4 separate regions of the Homo sapiens genome follow, and regions 2, 3 and 4 are each linked to region 1. The links are contacts of gene promoters, found by promoter capture Hi-C in human tissues and cell types (Jung and others, 2019). All regions are on one chromosome and are shown on one strand. The core of a region is centred on a gene start or on the middle of the fragment in contact, and the rest is flanking DNA. Distances in the headings are between cores, read along the strand shown. Region 1 holds the start of MYBL1 (MYB proto-oncogene like 1). Region 2 overlaps CSPP1 (centrosome and spindle pole associated protein 1). Region 3 overlaps COPS5 (COP9 signalosome subunit 5). Region 4 holds the start of PPP1R42 (protein phosphatase 1 regulatory subunit 42).

The links. Contacts are between HindIII fragments. The study calls those that stand out against the background at their distance.
Region 2: a fragment that was not itself captured here is called in contact with the fragment with the promoter of MYBL1 in region 1 in 1 of the 25 tissues and cell types used here (dorsolateral prefrontal cortex).
Region 3: a contact is called between a fragment that was not itself captured here and the fragment with the promoter of MYBL1 in region 1, in 1 of the 25 tissues and cell types used here (H1 embryonic stem cells).
Region 4: a contact is called between a fragment that was not itself captured here and the fragment with the promoter of MYBL1 in region 1, in 1 of the 25 tissues and cell types used here (hippocampus).

The regions. Positions count from the first base shown.
Region 1 is chr8:66,611,617-66,614,854 of GRCh38, forward strand. It overlaps MYBL1 (MYB proto-oncogene like 1), which reads right to left and starts at 1,602. Exons shown (of 16, transcript NM_001080416.4): 1 at 1,203-1,602. The coding sequence starts at 1,222. It overlaps LOC105375884 (a long non-coding RNA gene), which reads left to right and starts at 1,933. Exons shown (of 2, transcript XR_929015.3): 1 at 1,933-2,036; 2 at 2,429-3,238. RefSeq lists a silencer at 1,369-1,888 and enhancers at 2,119-2,258, 2,309-2,388, 2,399-2,448. The HindIII fragment of the contact is 9,266 bases long and covers 1-3,238 here.
Region 2 is chr8:67,075,657-67,078,894 of GRCh38, forward strand. It overlaps CSPP1 (centrosome and spindle pole associated protein 1), which reads left to right. Exons shown (of 31, transcript NM_001382391.1): 3 at 826-925. Among named protein-coding and RNA genes, the nearest start is that of CSPP1, 13 kb to the left of the region's middle. The HindIII fragment of the contact is 3,037 bases long and covers 1-3,034 here.
Region 3 is chr8:67,042,117-67,045,354 of GRCh38, forward strand. It overlaps COPS5 (COP9 signalosome subunit 5), which reads right to left. Exons shown (of 8, transcript NM_006837.3): 8 at 963-1,201. The coding sequence ends at 1,117. Among named protein-coding and RNA genes, the nearest start is that of PPP1R42, 15 kb to the left of the region's middle. The HindIII fragment of the contact is 4,464 bases long and covers 1-3,238 here.
Region 4 is chr8:67,025,598-67,028,835 of GRCh38, forward strand. PPP1R42 (protein phosphatase 1 regulatory subunit 42) reads right to left here and starts at 2,957. Exons shown (of 8, transcript NM_001364910.1): 1 at 2,894-2,957. It overlaps LOC105375885 (a long non-coding RNA gene), which reads left to right and starts at 2,981. Exons shown (of 4, transcript XR_929017.2): 1 at 2,981-3,048. The HindIII fragment of the contact is 6,535 bases long and covers 1-3,238 here.

The DNA.
Region 1 (3,238 bases), core at 352-2,851:
AAAACAGTTTTAGAGGGGTCTGTGTACACATTTATTTCATCTCAAGAGTTTGTCCTATAACTTACTTCAAAACTAATAAGCTTACAGAGACTTAAGGATTTCTGCAGAAGCATCCTGCACACAGCAGATGCTTAACAGAAAACTAAGGAAAAAACAATTATGTATAGTTACTGCCAATTTTTAGCAGAACTCTGCAATGAATGACCCCCATTACTAAATTTCAACTTAGGAAATACATCTCTAGTTAAGATTTTGGGGCTGTGGATCTAGATAAATAAATATTTGGAAATCCTGCCAAACATCTTTTCAGGTTTATTTGATAATGCTGAAAATCGGAAGACATCCTATATTTTTGTTATCTAAGCAATTACTCCACATAATTTATGAGTAGCTGCTGTAATGGCATGTAAACGAAAATTAGATGCATAAATTCATCCTAGCACATTTTCCAGGCAAAGGTGGAAAAAAGTGCCTTACCTCTGTGGAACACTTAGGTACGGTCAGAGCCAAACACAGACACTCAAAATATTAAGTGAATCAAACACATTGTTTTATTTCAAGATCAAGCTACTAGTTGTTACTACTAGTTGTTACTATGTGACATGGTCCCAAGAGAGGATATTAAAATATACATATATACATAAAGCTGAGCATATGGGTATAGGAATTACAGAAAACATCAAAAAAGTCCTCTCAGCTATTCCCCAGAGGATTTTCCACAACGTTTCAAGATAGCCAAGTTGGCAGAGGGGTGGCCGCCCAGGTTCACCGCGGAGTTCCTATTTTGACTGTACCGTCATTCAGAAAAGAGTCGCCCGAACACCATTTTCAAGTCCTCCCGGCAGGACACAGTCAGTTTTCTCTGCGTAGCGGACTCCCTAAAAGCGCTCGACTTACCTGGCAAGAAACCTGCCTCGAAGAAGTGGCAGCATGAGGTCAGAAATCTGGACGCGCATTACGGGGAGAGTCACCGAGAAACCTGGGCATCTCTTACGTCCCGCGCCTCAAACACCCTGGTCCCCAACTCTCCACACGTCGCAGCTGCCCTCCGGTCATCGAGGCCAAGCGGCCGCGGGGACGCGGGAAGAAAAACCTCTGCCCTCGCCAGGGAGGGCCTTATGGCGGGAGGGGGCAGCGGGATAGGAAAGAGAATCTGAGCCGAGACGGCGCCGACAGGCCTGGGCGAAAGGGGTGCCACCCACCTGCGCGACCTCTTCGCCATCCTTCAAGTACCGCATAGGAGCAGGCTGGGCGGGGACGCGGGTCAGCCTCCTCCAGCCTCCGGCGAATGCTCCTTCTCCCCGATCCTCTAGCCGCTTCCCTCGCTCCCTCTGGAGGCGGCCGAGTGCGGAACGCACGTCCTCGACAGGGCAGGACGGAGGGACAGCGGGGGCGGACCGCGACCCGACCCCGACCCCGGCCCGCAGCGCCGCTCTTAGCCCCGGCCCGGCCCGGCCAGGGATACCCCCAACATGTCAGGAGGCGCGATCCCGCCCTCCGCCGGCTTCTCCCGCCGCTTGTCAGCCTCCCTGCCCTGGCCCCAGCCCGGCTCCGCCACAGGCGCCCGACCCCTGCCCTCTCCCCCGCAGCTAGCAGTTCTGCAGGGCTCGCAGTCTCCTGCAGGGTTTTGTCCGCACCGCCGAATCTCGCGCCCAGCCTCCCTCAAGAGCCGCCGTTTGAATCTGCGCACGCGGCCCTGAACCTCATTGGCTGTGGGGGCCGCACGCGAAGAAGCGAGGGCGGGGAGGGGAGAGCGCGCGCGGCTGAGGGCGGGGCTGGGGAGCTGGAAGCTGGGACTGGAACTCGCGGGAGTCGGGGAAGGAGCCGGGAGCCAGGGGGTGGGGCCGCGGGTGGGGCCGTAGGTGGCGCATGCGAGCCGAGCTGTCATAGGACCCGGAACGCGCCGAGAGGCGCACCGCGCGGGGCCTGCTGGGAGAGCGAGTTCCTGCGCTCGCCGAGGAGTGGGTCCGGAAGCGGCGCCGGAGCGGGTCCGGAAGCGGGCGGTGGAGAAGTCCAGTTGCCCCAAAATTCTTAGGGTGAGCGAACCGAGTTTCTGGCGGGGTGGGTGGTCCCGCGGCCCACCAAGGGAACGTCTCCGCAGCCTCGCCTCGGCGACAGCTCCTGGCTCCTTAGGTGTCTTCCGCCTCACTAGTTAGGATGCGCGGTCTTCAGACTTGAGACAAATCTAACCATAAATTTGCGCGGCCGTTATTTTTTAAGCAAAAATGTGAGCTATTTTTACCCAGACATCATAGTTACGAGAGTGACGAAGACTCTGGCAGGAAACCAAATATCACCTGTTTTCCTCAAAAAGCAGCAGAAGAGTGACAAGTGAAAAAAGTTCCTAGCGGGAGACGTGCTTGGAACCGGAGATAATCTGTGTCTACCGCTGGTCTTCAAGGTGCTTAATTTCGTGCCCGCTCTACAGGAAATAACGTGCGCGGCGGAGGAGCCCTGTCCTGGAGAATAACGCGTGAAGAAGACAGTGGACTGGGCATTTCGTCCAGATGAATGAGCATGGTAGTTAAGTGTAGAAGGTGACCTTCTTCCCTCTGGAGAGACCAGGGAGGGGGGAACCACCGGAGGAGTTTCTAGCGGTTGCAGCTACTTGAGGTTCCAGTCTAATAACTACGAACTGTTCATTTCAAGTAGCATTAAAGTAGATTTGCTACAGTAACAATTACACTTGGCTAAGGAAAATTTGCAAGGCAACATGGTCTATTGCATAGAGCACTGAGCCACATGTTAACACTGTAACAAACACTTGCTATTTTGAAATTTTACGCTTCATCTTTTGCAAATCAGATGCAGGTGCAGAGTGAATTAAGAGGAGCTGAATTAAGAGAGAAGCTTGCATGCACTGCTGTCAAAACCTAAACACACTGGCTTTTTTTTTTTTAACAGTTCCTTTTTTCAAGGTATAGATTCTGGGAAGGTAAGGGAAGATAAAACAGCTTTTCTTTTTCTCTCCTGTTTTTTTTTTTGTTGTTTTTTTTTTGAGACTAGGTCTCACTCTATTCCCCATGCTGGAGTGCAGTGGCACAATCATAGCTTACAGTAGCCTCGAACAGCGATCCTCTTGCCTCAGCCTCCAAAGTAGCTGGGACTACAGGCGCGCGCCACAACACCTGGCCAAGCGTTTCTTCCAGATCATTCCTTACTGGGTTGCTGGTTCAGTAAAAATAAAAAAATAAAAAATAATTTAGAAATGAGTTCCCAAATTTCATTATGTTCCCAA
Region 2 (3,238 bases), core at 266-2,765, 460 kb after region 1:
GGAACCAACATAATAGGTTGCCTTTCTTCCAGATAACCTGTCATGTACCAGGAATGCCAAGGACTTTATATGTATCATTTTATTTAATCATAATATCCCTGTTAAGCAGGTGAATTTTTTTTGTTTTATGGATTAAGAAAGTGAAGCTCACAGGAGTTAAGTAATTTGTCCAGGTCCACACAGTGGTGGATTCAGGAGTGGAACCTTTATGCAGCTCCAGAGTCTATCTCTTAACCACTCTCCAGTAGTTAGGACCAGCTTACGGCTTTGGAGTTACATGATTTGGAGTACATAGCTTTAAAGACAGTTTTGTTATAATTTCTAACATTAATTTGTACATAAATAATTTTAAGTCTTAGTTCAAGTATCACCTGCTCAGTGAGGCCTTATAGTCCCCCAGCATTTCTGGGCCTCCTTACTTTAATCTGCTTTTTTTTTTTTCCATAACCACTTCCTGCCACTATCTACATATCACATAATCTAATCATGTGTTGAGTTCATTATGTGTCCCCCCAATAGTTTATAAGCTTCATGATGGCAGAAATTCTTCTATTTTTTAAAACTCTTATACTTTCAATGCTTGACAAAATGTTTGGCACTTAATGGGAACTCAGTAAATATTTGTTGGTAAGTGAATGAGTTAAATATTAGAATATCTATTATAAAATTAAAATACCTTTGGCTAATTCCTCAAACCTTACACTTAATTTCTTCTATGATGTACTGTGTAATTTCATCAAGCTGTTTAATTAAAATTTGAGATGAGTTGTATATTTCATGGTTTTTTTTTTCCTCTTGCTTTTGTAAACATTATGTCTCTTTCAGGGAAAGTTGTCAGCGAAGCTTTCTGAAAACAGTAAGATACTGATCTCTATGGCTAAGGAAAACATACCACCAAATAGTCAACAGACCAGGGGTTCCTTAGGTATGTCATTAGATGTGCTAAACTTATTTTAAGATATCCTTAGTGGGCTCTTCTGAAAGAGGTTTGTCTTGTCAGAAAAAAAGATTTATTTGGAATCCTAGTAGTTTTTCTTTCTGGAATCTTACGTAAGTCAATATGGTCTACATATGAAATAGAACTCATACTGAAAACTTTGTACTTGTTTTATGTGATACTGCATTGGTTATGATTTATGGAACTTATAGAAGAAGGTGTGTATAACATAACTTAAAAATTGAAAACTTTGAAAGGAATTTGTGTGTGTGAGAGAGAGAGAGAAGAGAAACTTTTATTTGTTGATTGAAAATGGTGAACTTGCTTATTTAAAAATTAAAGAAATATGCTTAAAGGGTACAAAATGCTGTTTGGTGAAAGACTATTTTAATTATTGATGATCATGTTGGAATTGTAAAGAAGTTAATACTGTAGCCATACTAATGCTTTGATTATGGTATGGTATGAAAATATTTGGAAACTTTTTACCACATTTTGGCTTGTTGGTAGGTATACATTTTAAAAAAAGAAAATGTATGAATATGTAAAAATTTTTGTTTATTTATTAAAGACAGGGTCTCTCTCTCTCTCTCTCTGTCACTCAGGCTGGAGTGCAGTGGCATGATCATAGTTCAGTGTTATCTTGAACTCCTGGGTTCAAGCAATCCTCCTGCCTTGGCCTCCCAAAGTACTACAATTACAGGCCTGAGCCACCATGCCCAGTCTGTATGAATATATATAATTTTTTTTTTTTTTCTTCAAGGCTGAGTCTGACCCTGTCGCCCAGGCTGGAGTGCAGTGGCACGATCTCGGCTCACTGCCGCCTCCACCTCCCAGGTTCAGGCGATTCTCCTGTCTCAGTCTCTCAAGTAGCTGGGATTACAGGCGCATGCCACCACACTCAGCTAATTGTTTATATTTTTGGTAGAGACAGGGTTTCGCAGTGTTGGCCAGGCTGGTCTCGAACTCCTGACCTCAGGTGATCTGCCTGCCCGCCTCGGCCTCCCAAAGCTGGGGTTACAGGCGTGAGCCACTGTGCCCGACCTGTATGAATATTTTCAATGTGCATTTTGTGATTTATTGATGATGACAAACTTTTTCACAAAAAGAAAATCAACTATGATAAGTTCATTTGATTAAAGCATTGTTCTCAAATGGACAGCTTTTCATGGATGTAGGTATACTCCTAAATTGTTTTTGTGTGCCAGTGGATACAAGGGGATGCCGGCCAAGAAACTGGATAGTCAGTAAGCTTTGTCTCTGCATTAGACAAATAGCTCAAAGTGAGTGCCCTACTTTTAATATCAGATAGATAACTCTTTCCATTTTGAATCTCTTATAAATTATTAATATACAGCATTAGTGAACTAAAGTATTATATATTGGTAAAATTTTTTAATCTCTAAGGCTCTCAATTTTTTTTCTGTGAAATAAGTTTGATTATCTTCCAGCCCTACGTTTTTATGAATCTAAATTTTAATTATTCCAAGAGATAATTTTTAAAAAGTTTAATAGTAGGTTATCTCAAGCACTAAGGTCGCTAAGGTTAGACAGAATCCCTTTTAAATTCTAGGGTTACAGCTTGCTTTGGATTGGGCTGTGATGCCTTTATGACCTGTCAGGAGCTACACTTTGTTTCCTTATCTTATGACATCTATCTCAAAAAGTCGTTATGGGCGAAAGTTAAATACGTGAAAAGATGGCTGGCACGTAATTGGTACACAATAAATATTAATTTCTTTTTCTCCTTAACATCTTTTTTTTTTGAGACAGGATCTTACTTTGTCGCCCAGGCTGGAGTGCAGTGGCATAATCTTGGCTCACTGCAACCTCCACTGTCCAGGCTTAAGTGATTCATCCTCCCTCCTCAGCCTCCAAGTAGCTGAGACCACAGGTGAGCACCACCATGCTGGCTAACTTTTTTTTATATACATATATTTTCTGTAGAGGTGGTGTTTCGCTATGTTGCCCAGGCTGGTCTGGTCTCGAACTCGCTAGCTCAAGCCATCCGCCTGCCTCGGCCTCCCAAAGTTCTGGGATTACAGGTGTGAGCCACTTGTGCCTGGCCTTCCATCTTTTTAAAAGTAGTTTTTCGGGCTGGGCGTGGTGGCTCACACCTGTAATCCCAACACTTTGGGAGGCTGAGGCCAGCAGATCACTTGAGATCAGGAGTTCAAGACCAGCCTGGCCAACATGGTAAAACCCCATCTCTACTAAAAATACAAAAAAATTAGCCCAGCATGGTGGCGCAGGCCTATAATCCTAGCTACTTGGGAGGCTGAGGTGGGAGGATCACTTGAA
Region 3 (3,238 bases), core at 229-2,728, 430 kb after region 1:
CTGGCTCAAGCGATCCTCCCACCTCAGCCTCCCAAGTAGTTGGGACCACAGGCGCGCACTACCACACCTGGGTATTTTTTTGTACTTTTAGTAGAGATGGCGTTTTGCCATGTTACCCCAGGCTGGTCTCGAACTGCTGAGCTCAAGCAATTCTCCTGCCTCAGCCTCCCAAAGTGCTGGGGTTACAGGCGTGAGCCACCATGCTTGGCCCTACTTACCAATCTTAAGTCTAACTGAATCTCATTTCCTTGAAGGTTCTAGGTTCTTGCTTTCTACCTCTGAGCTTCTACACACTGCTGTACTCCCTGCCTGTAATAGTAACCACCTCCCTGTTACTCTCTTCTGGCTAATCCTTTCATGTTTCAACTTAATGGTCAGGCCACATCCTTCAGGAAGCCAACTTTGCTAACCCCTCTTGAGGACATGCATTCCTCCCCATGAGTCCCCAACACACTTTATTTCTCCCCTCACAGCAGTATCTTTAAGTTCTTGTTAATTAAGCTTTAGCCTCCAGAAGTTCTGTGAGGACAGTGGCCATGTCTAGCTTGTTCAGCATATTTCCAGAGAGTAACAGTCACCAGCTCAGGAAAGGTATGTGATGAATATTTGAAGGACTAGATACCCTGTGCTAGGCTGTCTCTAATAAGTATTTGATTTTCAGGAAAATAATTTATGGTACTACTCAGCTAATGTTTTGTAGGAACATTAAAAGTGTTCCTAATACATTATTAAAATAATGAACTGTTAAATTATATTTTACTTACAGACAGTCAAAAGAAGGGACAAATTGAAAAGTGGTTCTGACAATCAGTATGGCAAGTGAAATGCTGAAATTGACTAATTTAGATAGTCTAAACTTAAAAATAGAAAGTTCTAATAAATATATTTTCTCTCATATTCAAGAACCGTAATGGATACTAGAAAAATATTGCGAATCTTCCCACAAAAAAATCAAAGGACAATTTCATTTTAAAGAGCTTTATTACAGGATATTAATATTTAGGACACTTCAGAGCACCTTATACTTCTAATCAGATTTTGGGTAACTGGTTTTAAAGTGTTACTTGAATATTTTTCTCATACTGTCTTTCAGGTAAAGTACTTCTCAGAGACTGTTTAAGAGATGTTAATTTGATTAAACAGTTTATCCTTAATAACCTGAGACATCAATCCATGGATAGCTTCTATGGTAGTTTTACAGCTGGAAAAAAAAACACACATCACATGATGTCATAAATTGAAAACTATTTCAAACACACAAGATCAGCCCCAATCCATCCATGTAACTCCAATGAGTTTAGTTTTATTCATACTTCTCAAACCACCCCAATCTGAAGTTTTCCCTTGTGATTTTATTAGTCTTCCCCATGTCTTTTTGACCATTTCATTACTTACTAGAACTTTCACAAGAGAATGACAACGTAAAATTTGATACAATTGTTCTGTTTTAGAAGGTGAGTAAAATTATACAAACCTGTAATTAGAGATTGATTCTAATATTATATTATATTAAAATCTGTTATTCCTTGTTTATTACTTAGGATAATTTGACAAATAATTTTAAAGAATACTATGCTTTTTTCTGAAATAATCACAAGCATCCTCCAACAATCAGAAGTCAAACTTAGGTTAGCGGGTGAAGGCCTTAGATTTTAGAAATGATAAAAAGTATAAGGCAAAAGAAATGACAAAACCCCACCAATACTCAGAAGAGATGCAATTCTTGTAAAGCTACCCCAAAAAGGAAAATTCTCTACTTTTGATTACTACTTCTGTTCTATTTCTTATATAATTGAAGACATTGCCATAGTAAAATTTTTGCTTCATAATTAATAAATGTAGATAAACTGATAAATGACATACATAAAGACAGATGAACAAAACACACACTCAAAGCAAGTATCTAAAATGACTCCTGATGCCAACGAAAAATACTTTTTTTTGGAGACAGAGTCTCACTCTGTCACCCAGGCTGGAGTGCAGTGGCACAATCATGGGTCACTGCAACCTCTGCCTCCTAGGCTCCAGTGATTCTTGTGCCTCAGCCTCCTAAGTAGCTGGAACCACAGATCTGCGCCACCATGCCCAGCTAATTTTTTTTTTAAATTTTTGCAGAGATGGGGTTTTGCCATGTTGCCCAGGCTGGTTTCAAACTCTTGAGCTCAAGCAATATGCCTGCCTTGGCCTCCCAAAGGGCTGGGATTATAAGCATGCGTCACCATGCCCAGCCGAAAAACGCAACTTTTATGCAGGCCACTAGCTCTACCTTCTAAAAACCCACTGAGAAGATGGCAGTGAAATAAGGCTAACCCAAAATGACCTCCAATCCCAGGATACACTTTAGCTACTCTTTTCTCTTCTTTTCCCTATAAACCAAACCAGTTCTTAAAATAGATACCAACATATAAATGTTTATAGAAGTCAATATGTTTCTTCCTTCCTTTCTGCCTCTAATTATTGCATTACAATTCAAATTTCTTTTCTTTCTTTTTTTTTTTTGGAGACAGAGTTTCGCTCTTGTTGGCCAGGCTGGAGTGCAATGGCGCCATCTTGGCTCACTGCAATCTCCACCTCCTGGGTGGAGGTGATGCTTCTGCCTCAGCCTCCTGAATAGCTGGGATTACAGGTGCCCGCCACCACGCCCGGTTAATTTTTGTATTTTTAGTAAAGATGGGGTTTCACCATGTTGGCCAGGCTGGTCTTGAACTCCTGATCTCAGGTGATCTGCCTGCCTTGGCCTCCCAAAGTGCTGGGATTACAGGTGTGAACCACTGTGCCCGGCCTAAAATTCAAATTTCTGTGAAAGTAAATGTTATTAATCTTTGCAACTTTGTATAGCCTATATATCTGAAGGTCCACATAATTATTTCGTAAGTTATTAAAGAACACATCCCAAATTTGTTCCTAATAAAATCTTTGGTAGTAAAATTTGGGATACTAAATTACTGTTTTAGAAGCACAATTTAAGAGAGAGACAATCACTTCTGTAATATCTTAGGATTTAAAGCTTTATTGAATATTAACATCTTGTAAATTTAAGAAATCCTAATTTTGGCCGGGTGCGGTGGTTCATGCCTGTAATCCCAGCACTTTGGGAGGCCCAGGTGGGCAGATCACCTGAGGTCAGGAGTTCAAGACCAGCCTGGTCAACATGGTGAAACCCCATCTCTACAAAAAATACAAAAAAATTAGTCAGGCATGATGGCAGGTGCCTATATTCCCAGTTACTTGGGAGGCT
Region 4 (3,238 bases), core at 310-2,809, 410 kb after region 1:
AAGAGGAGAAAAACAAGCAAATTTAGTTAATACAAGTTTAATGTGGCATGGGAGCCTTCATAAGAAATGGAGACCCAAAGACGCAGAGTTGTATACTTGCATACTAAGTTAGAAAAAGGACAGTAGGCCGGGTGCGGTGGCTCATGCCTGTAATCCCAGCACTTTGGGAGGCCGAGGTGGGCAGATCACTTGAGGTCAGGAGTTCGAGACCAGCCTGGACAACATGGTGACACCTCATCTCTACTAAAAATACAAAAATTAGCTGGGCGTGGTGGCACATGCCTATAATCCCAGCTACTCAGGAGGCTGAGGCAGAGGAATCGCTTGAACCTGGGAGGCAGAGGTGGCAGTGAGCCCAGATCGCACCACTACGCTCCAGCCTGGGCGATAGAGTGAGACTCCGTCTCAAAAAAAAAAAAAAAGAAAAAATAAGAGCATAGTAAATTGTGAAAATGTGGCCGGGCGCGGTGGCTCATGATTGTAATCCCAGCACTTTGGGAGGCCGAGGTGGGTGGATCACCTGAGGTCAGGAGTTTGCGACCAGCCTGACCAATATGATGAAACCCTGTCTCTACTAAAAATACAAAAAAATTAGCCGGGCATGGTGGCATATGCCTGTAATCCCAGCTACTCGGGAGGCTGAGGCAGGAGAATCGCTTGTACCCAGGAGGCAGAGGTTGTGGTGAGCCAAGATTGCACCATTGCACTCCAGACTGGGCAACAAGAGTGAAACTCCATCTCAAAAAAAAAAAGAAAAAAGAAAATGTGACAAGGTAAAGGAGCTTGGGCTAGGGCTAGGGTAGTTGATTGGTGAAGGGTTCCTGTAAAAACATTTGTTTGTACAGCTTTTCCTTGGCTTCAGCTTCTAGTCCTTGATGGTAAGAATGATACTTTCTAGTATAGGGAGGAAATCTTTCACATAAAAATTTATTCTCCTGCTTTTAAGAAAAAGAACAGGCAGGGTGTGTTGGCTCACACCTGTAGTCCCAGCACTTTGGGAGGCTGAGGTGGGAGGATTGCTTGAGCCCAGGAGTTCGAGACCAGCCTGAGCAACATGGCGAGACCCCTGTCTCTACAAAAATAAATGAGCCGGGCATGGTGGTACACGCCTGTGGTCCCAGCTATTTGGGAGGTTGAGGCAGGAGGATTGCTTGAGCCTGGGAAGTCAAGGCTGTGGTGAGCTGTGATTGCGCCACTGCACTTCAGCCTGGGAAACAGAGCATGAACCTGTCTCAAAACAAAAAACAAAAAACAGAATAAAAGTCAGAGCAATCGTCTTTTACCTGTCATTTTTCAAGTGCTTTTTTTTTTTTTTTTTCCTGAGATGGAGTCTTGGTCTGTTGCTCAGGTTGGAGTTCAGTGGTGCGATTTCGGCACACTGCAACCTCTGCCTTCTGGGTTCAAGCGATTCTTCTGCCTCAGTCTCCCGAGCAGCTGGGATTACAGGCATGCACCACCACGCCTGGCTAATTTTTGTATTTTTAGTAGAGATGGGGTTTTGCTATGTTGGCCAGGCTGGTCTGGAACTCCTGATCTCAAGTGATCCGCCCGCCTCAGCCTCCCAAAGTGCTAGGATTACAAGTGTGAGCCACCATGCCCAGCAATTTTTCAAGTGCTTTTATCTAAATATAGTCAATATGCCAGAGCAGCATATTTTGAAATGACATATTCTTAATACTTTCACTTTAGAAATGGATTCCGTCTATAGATTTCAGTGTATAAACTGGTGTTCACATAGATAAAAATTAATGACCTTAGATAATTTTGGAAAAGGACAGAGGCAAACTTTGTATGTAAGTGAAGTATTTATTAAACCAAGGGAAGGTCAATGGACCTCATCAGCAAGCTATAGGAAAACTTTCTAGGGGCTTGAATATGGAAAAGGAGAGAACTGAATCAACCCACAACACAAAATAATAGACTGTTAACTCAAAAGAATTTGCATTGTAGCAGTCCATAAGAAAGAATTTAGTTTCATCAAAACACCACCATTCATCTTGTTAAAAACAATATTAATTTAAACTGTATTGGTAGTTTTTATTGTTTTAGAAAATTAAAAGCTTCAGGAGCTTAAACTGAACCTAAAGTGGATTTGGATATATTTTAGAACATTATAATAAAAATAATGTCCGCACTTGTGAAGTGTCTTTGGTTTTCTTTTAAAAGAGATTGTGTTCTAAAGTTTGAGAAACTGCTTTTGCCTACTTTCCACCTTCTAGATATCTCGTGTTACTTTGGGACTCCTCTTACTAGATCTCTCTCTCCCAGGCCACCGGTGGGAACAGCTTAGAGCTTCTTTACAGGCTCTAGGGATCCATTTTATTGTTAGCTTTTTGTTGGTGTTTTTTGTTTTTTTGTTTGTTCGTTTTGTTGTTGTTTTCCAGCTTTTCGGTTTGGGGGGTACATGTGCAGGTTTCTTACATGGGTGGAATCCATTTTAATGGACCCCTTGGCTTTCATCTACTGGAATTCCCACAGACTAGAGGCAGTGGACAACGTTTTCTGAATTCTGTTAGTATCTATACTTCCACTTAGGCCACAGGCTCAGTGGCTTCCAGATGCTCTAAATCACTGGCTCCAGCCCTCAGGCTTTTCAAAACCCTTCCCTTTCAAACTCAGCTCCACGCCCACCGGGCTGCTTCCTCAGCCCCGCGACCACCCCTCCACCTGTGTCTCCCTCCTCTAGAGCTGTTTCACAATCTTGCCAGCTAACCATTTGTTAAAAACACAGACTTCCAGACTATTTTTTCTGGAAATTCTGTATGTCTAAAGATAGGGCCCAAGGATCTGCATTTTAACAAATGTCCCGGAAAGTCTTACTGGCAGGCAAGTTTGAGAAACATGGTTCTAGGGTTTCCTCGGTCCCCACGCTTATTCCCCGCGGGCAGCTCACCGCTCGCGGGACAGTCCGGTAGCTAACTCCAGTTTGGTCGGTTTCATCGGCGCCGGGTCCCTACGCAGACCAGCGGCGGTTGCTGGGCGACCAGACGCGCTGTCCAAGCGCCGCTCACGAGAAATCTCGCGACATCGCAGGCTGCTCCCTCCCCGGTGGGTCCTTCCCCTGTGAGGCGGCGGCCGGGCGCTGATGGGCACTGACGGTGGTCACTAGGCCGACTCCGACTAGAGTCCTGTTAGCTTGAAGAGGCCGTGAGGCATCGGTCACCGCATTGTTTTAGTGGACCAGTTAGTAGCCGGAACAATTTTTGGCAGACCACCATTTCCCCCTACCGGATTATCC